Regions from separate parts of the Homo sapiens genome. Here region 1 is linked to region 2. Evidence: promoter capture Hi-C in 16 types of primary human blood cells and fetal thymus (Javierre and others, 2016). All regions are on one chromosome and are shown on one strand. Each heading gives the region's core, a stretch centred on a gene start or on the middle of the fragment in contact. The rest is flanking DNA. Distances are from core to core; before and after follow the strand shown.

Region 1 (3,616 bases), core at 135-2,634, 2.1 Mb after region 2:
TAGAACTGTGAGGCCATATATTCTGTTGTGTGGCCACCTACCTTATAATACTCTGCTGTGGCCGACCTGGGAAACTAACACAGCGGGTCGTTACTGTCAGACCAAAGGTTCCAACTTATAAACAGAATGAAACATTTCGTAAGTTGAGTTTAAAGAAAATGGATTATTTAAAATGCACATGGGCCCCCCGCCCCACATTAAAAAAACAAAAAACAAATACAAGGCGGAGGTTGCAGTGAGCCGAAATCGCGCCACTGCGCTCCAGTCTGGGCGACAAGAGCGAGACTCCGTCTCAAAAACAAAAACAAAAGCAAGAAAACAAGCCCGAATGGTATTCTCTACCACTTAATTCTGAAAGTATGTAGATTCGTGTTTTCGTCACTCAGAGAATGAAAATTAGCGTTTGTTTGTCTAAGAGCTCTAAGACGGGGTGAGAAGTGGAGGAAGAGGTCCAGAGGAGGAAAGAAAACTGCTCGCCCGCGCCCGCCCTGCAGCTGCACGTGGGTCGCCCTAAGCCTGGGTTCGGAGCTGATGGCGCAGGTCCCAGGTGCCCTCTAGCGGCTGACGTCAGTCACGGCGCCCCGGCCCCGGCGCGCCCCGTCCACTCTGCCCACTCGGGACGCGTGGCTTGAAGTCCCGGGAATGCCACGGTTGCACCCACAAGGGTCGATCAACTCGGCTTCCTTCAGGAGACCTGGACTGACCACCCGCTGTGTGCCAAGCACTGTTTAGGTGCTGGTAAAATAGAGCCCACTGCTCCTGGAGTTCGCTCTAGCGGTGGGAGGCCGACGATTAGCAGCGGGAATAAGCGATGGAGGGGGGTCGGGCCGGGAACCGCAGGGATCCTGGGTGCGGGTTGCGATTGCAAATGGGGGCATCGGGTAAACCTCGCTGAGTAAGTGACATTTAAGCAGCGACCACGACGAGGAGGAGGAGCTTTGACATTGTCTGCAGGAAAAGTGGTCCAGGAAGAGGAACAGAAGCGCAAAAGCCCCAGCACAGGAGCAAGGGCCAGGGAGGAGGCGGAGGGGCTGCCGCGGAGGGAGCCGGGCAGGGGTGCAGGAGGGCAGAGGGGAAAGGCGCAGGTCCGGTGGTGTCTTTCAACGGGATGTTACCCTGGGCGTAGGGTTGTCAGATACAGCACATGTATTCTTTTAGTATAAGTATGTCCCAAATATGGCGTGGGACATACTTACACTAAAAAAAGTTTCATTGTCCTTTTGCAATTCAATTTTAACCCGGCATCTTGATCTATATTTGCTAAATTTGGCAGGCCTGTTAGGGCTGCAACAAAAGGAGAGAGTGTGAGCAGAGAAATGACTTGATCTGACTGTTTTAAACCCATGTGACTCTTACCTATTGCTATGCCAGAGAGTGTGCTAGGTTCTGGGCATTCATTCAGCTGTAAGCAAAATGGACAGGATGCCTGCACCCCCACCAGTGCTCTGTGAGAGGGCTTTACCCCTTTGGCCTGCTCATCTATCCTTGTCCTTTGGACACAGTAAAGTGCTCCAGACTTCAGGACGCTTGCCCAGCCTCCCAGCACACCACCTAATCTTCTCCGTTCCCTATAATATCCGCCTTCCTTGTTATGCGGAGAGCTCCATCAGGATGGGGATTAGGTTTCTTTGACTCACAGCTGATTGGGGGCCAGGGCACTGCCGGGCTGAATGAGTATGTCTTCACTGAGTGTCCGTTTTTCTAAACCTGGTCCTCTAGCCTTACTCGTGGAGGGTGACCTACCTAACATCCTTTACATAAAATCTTTTCGAATCAGCTAGACTCGGTTTCTGCTGCTTGTGACATAGAACCCTGACGATACCTCAGTCCAAGCAGTTTAGTGGAGTAATCAGAGCAGAATGTATAATGTTAAAAAGCTGGCCCGATGCGGTGGCTCACGCCTGTAATCCTAGCACTCTGGGAGGCCGAGGCAGGCGGATCACTTGAGGTCAGGAGCTCGAGACCAGCCTGGCCAACATGGTGAAACCCCATCTCTACTAAAAATACACACACACACACACACACACACACACACACACACACACACACACAAAGTAACCGGACAAGGCGCGTGCCTGTAGTCCCAGCTACTTGGGAGGCTGAGGCAGGAGAATCGCTTGAACCCAGGAAGCAGAGGTTGCAGTGAGCTGAGATTGCACCACTGGACTCCAGCCTGGGTGACAGAGCGAGACTCTGTCTCAAAAAAAAAAAAGCTGGTGCTCCTGGAGTGGGAGGGCCACGCAGCACACCATAGTCAGGCCCTGTAGGAGAACAGTAGGCCTCTGGGACATGCAGGCTGGGTGGTGGACACGGTGGTGGTTTGTCTTCCCAGCCTTTTCTTTCTCTCTCTCTTTTTTTGCATACAGATCCTACGCTTTTAGGGGTGGGTACCATCGTTGCCTACTCAGTGGCTGTTTCAACCCTTCTGCCTGTACCATGTGATTTATTTATGTGCTCAGTTAACAAGAGAGAGAGCAAAATGAAAACATTTTTACAGACACTAAAAAAAAAAAAAAAAAAAAAAGGAGAAAGCCATGGTGGTTTGTCCACTCAATGAAACACTGAGAAATCATTTAAAGTGACATTTGCAATTGTTTAGGGATATGCTTATTCTAGAATATTAAATGCAAAAAGAAAGATAAAAAATAGACTGCTTCATTGAGCCGAAATCTCGCCACTGCACTCCAGCCTGGGCGACAGAGGGAGATTCCGTCTCAAAAAAAAGACTGCTTCATACAAGGCTTTGGATTCCGTGTGTGTGTGTGTGTGTGTGTGTGTGTATAAATACACGTGTACTGTAGGAAAAAAAACCAGCAGGAAGGAAGCCAAGACCCCAGCGGCCCTTGTTTATTGGGCGATAGGGAATTCGGTGGTTCTTTTGTCCGGTTTTCTGTATTTTCCAAGCTTGATTTAACCATGCTAAAGGCCTCTGTTACACGAAGTTTCCACGCTGCAGGATTCTCGGAGATAAAAACAACACTGAGTTGGCATGTTTGAAAACCTTCTCACTGCGGAGCTAAGCCTCCCATGTGCAATTTGCATTTTTCCTGTGAAAAAAAGCCGCCTTCGCTGTAGGGAGTCGCCTCCCTTCTCCTTGAAGTCCCCTAAGTCTTAGTTTCTGCATCGGGCCAATGGGGATGACTGTGAAGAGGTCGGAAGTCGCGGCTGTGGCGAAGCGGAATGCAGCCAGCGGCGCCGGCCCGGCAGGGAGTCGCTAGGGGGCGGGCGCGGGCTTGGAGCCCTCTTAGGCGCTCCCGTGGGGGCCCAACGTCAGGCGGCCGGTTAGCTCAGTTGGTTAGAGCGTGGTGCTAATAACGCCAAGGTCGCGGGTTCGATCCCCGTACGGGCCAGGCTAACTTTTTTTTTTTTTTTTTGGTCCCCGCAATGTTCCTTTCTGATACTGTAACCGGCGTGCAGGCAGGAGAGAACTGCGGAATCTTTTGGACTGGCCCAGAGGTTATCCAAGGCTACCTGCTGGGGAGAGCGGGAGGAACTCAGAGCGCGCTGGGGCGGTGGCTCCTCACCCCGAGTCCCCGCGCCGCCACCTGAAGGGTCTGTTTTAGAATGCCATTGGTTAGGCCTTTTACTTTTGTCGTTTTAAAGGACACTCTGGACA
Region 2 (3,601 bases), core at 605-3,104:
AATTATTCAGGTTTCAAAGCTCAGATTCAAAGAGAAAACGATCTAATTTGTCACTCCTTACACTAATATTCTCAAAAGTCAAGTCCAATGCGATTTAGCAATAAGAAGGGACTAGGATTTATAAAGTTGCCTTTTAATGAGAATGTATAGTCTACTTGTTTTAACAAGTTGAGCCTAAGATTAATGTATTGCGTACAGTTCAGAAAATCATGGGCCTCAACTGCATGAACACTATTACAAAACAGTAAATGTTGATAATATTTAAGTTGAACAAATTCACAGAGGCGTTAAATCGGCCAAACGAGTACAACAAAGACACACCTTTCCAACTCTTCAATTTGTCATAGTTTCCTTAAAAATCAGGAAATCTTTGTTTTGCTTTAAGGCAAATTGTCAGGTCGACCAAAAGGACAGATAAGAGCAGAAACACTTCGCTGCAATGTAACTCATTCAGGAAGGTTTAACTTGCCGCTAATCCGTGCCACAAAAAAAAATCTAGGCTCTGTTGCAGGTACAATGGAGGACACGGCTGAAAAAATTTGGAATTTTAAATGAGACAAATGCAAAACCTGGTGGGCGTAAAAAGGAGCACCTATGAAAGTGACAAATAGGGGGAAAGGGTGGGCAAGGGAAACAATGGCTGACTGGAGAGCAAAGAAGGGGAAGCTCAGGAGAAAATTTTAGAAAGCCGCCAGGACCCTGTAGTTCTAAGATCTACGGGGAAACAGGCACCCAACGGCTGCGTCTCAGGTTTCCGCGGGTCACTAAAGAATAACGGACATCCTCCCAACGGTGGCCCTGGGGCTCCGCGGGCGCTTCCGCCGAGCTCGCGCCGACCCCGCGCTCGGCCCCGCACCCCGCCGGGCGCTCGCGGCGAGATACCGGACGCTGCCCGCGTCGCCCGATTTTGTCCGTTCGGTCCTCCACACTCACCCCGCGGCCATCGCTCGCCCGAAGCCAGGCGACAAGAACAAACACCTCCCGACGCGAAAAAGGAAGCACAGGCGATTCTCGTCAAAGCAGACTTTATTGGGGCGACAGGGCCGCCCCGCACGCGCCAGCCGCTCCCCGCGCGGCCCCCGGGCCGCCCACCCGCCTCAACCCCGCTCCCGGCCGGCCCCTCCCTCCCTTCTCCTCAGGCTCCCGCCCCCGTGGTGCCCGGGGCCGCGCGGACCGCTCACCGGCTCCCAAGGCAGCGGCTGTAGCGGCGACGCCCCGTTCCCGAGTGCGGCCCCGGCCCGAGGCGGCGGGTTTTGTGGCTGTTGCACCGCGAAGGGCGGCAGCCGCGCGACACCGGGAAGCGGGAGGCGGTGGCGGCGGCGGCGGCGCGCTGACGTCACGCGCCGCGGGCCAGCCAGGGCGCGTGCGAGCCGCCCCGCCCCCGGTCCCATCGGCCCCAATCCGGGAGGAGCCCGGCGAGTGGGCGGGGCCGCGGAGGCCAGCGGACAGATCGATTGGCCGAGAGGAGAATCGAGAGGGCGAACGGGCGAGTGGCAGCGAGGCGGGGCGGGCTGAGGCCAGCGCGGAAGTCTCGCGAGGCCGGGCCCGAGCAGAGTGTGGCGGCGGCGGCGAGATCTGGGCTCGGGTTGAGGAGTTGGTATTTGTGTGGAAGGAGGCGGAGGCGCAGGAGGAAGGGGGAAGCGGAGCGCCGGCCCGGAGGGCGGGAGGAGGCGCGGCCAGGGCGGGCGGTTGCGGCGAGGCGAGGCGAGGCGGGGAGCCGAGACGAGCAGCGGCCGAGCGAGCGCGGGCGCGGGCGCACCGAGGCGAGGGAGGCGGGGAAGCCCCGCCGCCGCCGCGGCGCCCGCCCCTTCCCCCGCCGCCCGCCCCCTCTCCCCCCGCCCGCTCGCCGCCTTCCTCCCTCTGCCTTCCTTCCCCACGGCCGGCCGCCTCCTCGCCCGCCCGCCCGCAGCCGAGGAGCCGAGGCCGCCGCGGCCGTGGCGGCGGAGCCCTCAGCCATGGCCTCGGGCGACACCCTCTACATCGCCACGGACGGCTCGGAGATGCCGGCCGAGATCGTGGAGCTGCACGAGATCGAGGTGGAGACCATCCCGGTGGAGACCATCGAGACCACAGTGGTGGGCGAGGAGGAGGAGGAGGACGACGACGACGAGGACGGCGGCGGTGGCGACCACGGCGGCGGGGGCGGCCACGGGCACGCCGGCCACCACCACCACCACCATCACCACCACCACCACCCGCCCATGATCGCTCTGCAGCCGCTGGTCACCGACGACCCGACCCAGGTGCACCACCACCAGGAGGTGATCCTGGTGCAGACGCGCGAGGAGGTGGTGGGCGGCGACGACTCGGACGGGCTGCGCGCCGAGGACGGCTTCGAGGATCAGATTCTCATCCCGGTGCCCGCGCCGGCCGGCGGCGACGACGACTACATTGAACAAACGCTGGTCACCGTGGCGGCGGCCGGCAAGAGCGGCGGCGGCGGCTCGTCGTCGTCGGGAGGCGGCCGCGTCAAGAAGGGCGGCGGCAAGAAGAGCGGCAAGAAGAGTTACCTCAGCGGCGGGGCCGGCGCGGCGGGCGGCGGCGGCGCCGACCCGGGCAACAAGAAGTGGGAGCAGAAGCAGGTGCAGATCAAGACCCTGGAGGGCGAGTTCTCGGTCACCATGTGGTCCTCAGGTGAGCGCCGGCCGCGCGCCCCGGCCCCGGGATGTTTTTGTTTTGAAGGGAAGCCATGTTTTATGTGTGTGATGGGCGCCGCCATCTTCTTCGCCAGGGCAAGTATGGCGGCCCCAAAAGATGGCGGGCCGTGCGGCGGCGGGGGCGCGGCGGCGGCGGCGGGCGGCGGGCCGCGAAGATGGCGGCAGGCCGCGGGGGGGAGGGGCCGGCGCCGCCCGGCTAGGCCGCAATGGCGTAGTTTCTCCGAGAGGGGGAAGCGCCGCGCGGGGCGGAGACGGCCGGGGGAGGGGCCGGCGCGCTCGCTCCCCGACGCCCTCGCTCCCCGCGCCCGCATCAACGGGCGCGCCCGCCGGCCCGTTGTGGCGGCAGCTGCGCGCCCCCGGCCCGGGCGGGACGCGGGAGGTCGTTGGCGGGGCTGCGCCGCGGCCTCGCGGGCCAGGGATTGCTGCCTCCGGGACGCGCGCCCCCGCCCCCGCCCGGCGCTGCCGTTACCCCATCGGCCGCTGGAGGGCGCCGCGGGCGCTTGCCCCGCCCGCCCCCAACTTCCCCGGACTCCCAACTGCTCCCCGGTGGCACCTTCCAGAAGGAGGGGGCTTGGCACTCGTGGGCGCCCTCCGGCCTCCTTGCTCCCCGCCCACCCAGCGCCGGGCTGGACCCTGCCCCGGCGGTCACGCTCGCCCAAGTCGTCGTTTGCTGCGGGGCGGGACTTGGGGCTGCACGTAGGGCTCGCGTGTGCGGGCTCCGAGCGTCAGTCGGAGCCTGTCACCGCCGTTGCCAGCGAATTCCTGGCCTTTTCGCCTTCCTGCGGTACCTAGTGGAAAGGGCCTGTGAATGTTAGCGAATAATTCTTAGTCACTTACGTTTTGGGAAAGCTTTTTTTTTTTCCCTCAAGTATTTAGCTCTTCTGAATAGGTTGGGTTAGTTTACTCAACTGTGGACATTTGCCAGTAAATAAAATCGGGTAGTT

Evidence for each region. Contacts are between HindIII fragments. The CHiCAGO score rates a contact against its expected background, and 5 or more counts as called.
Region 1: a contact is called between a fragment that was not itself captured here and the fragment with the promoter of YY1 in region 2, in 1 of 17 cell types (total B cells). The highest score is 6.0, in total B cells.

The regions. Positions count from the first base shown.
Region 1 is chr14:102,313,816-102,317,431 of GRCh38, forward strand. TRI-AAT5-4 (tRNA-Ile (anticodon AAT) 5-4) reads left to right here and starts at 3,277; the gene lies at 3,277-3,350. RefSeq lists enhancers at 368-868, 762-841, 2,967-3,066. The HindIII fragment of the contact is 3,036 bases long and covers 1-2,902 here.
Region 2 is chr14:100,237,290-100,240,890 of GRCh38, forward strand. YY1 (YY1 transcription factor) reads left to right here and starts at 1,855. Exons shown (of 5, transcript NM_003403.5): 1 at 1,855-2,634. The coding sequence starts at 1,956. YY1-DT (YY1 divergent transcript) reads right to left here and starts at 1,332. Exons shown (of 2, transcript NR_189150.1): 1 at 1,182-1,332. RefSeq lists enhancers at 917-1,769, 2,607-2,766 and silencers at 1,007-1,606, 1,667-1,746, 1,897-1,966, 2,457-2,506, 2,777-3,456. The HindIII fragment of the contact is 3,842 bases long and covers 1-3,504 here.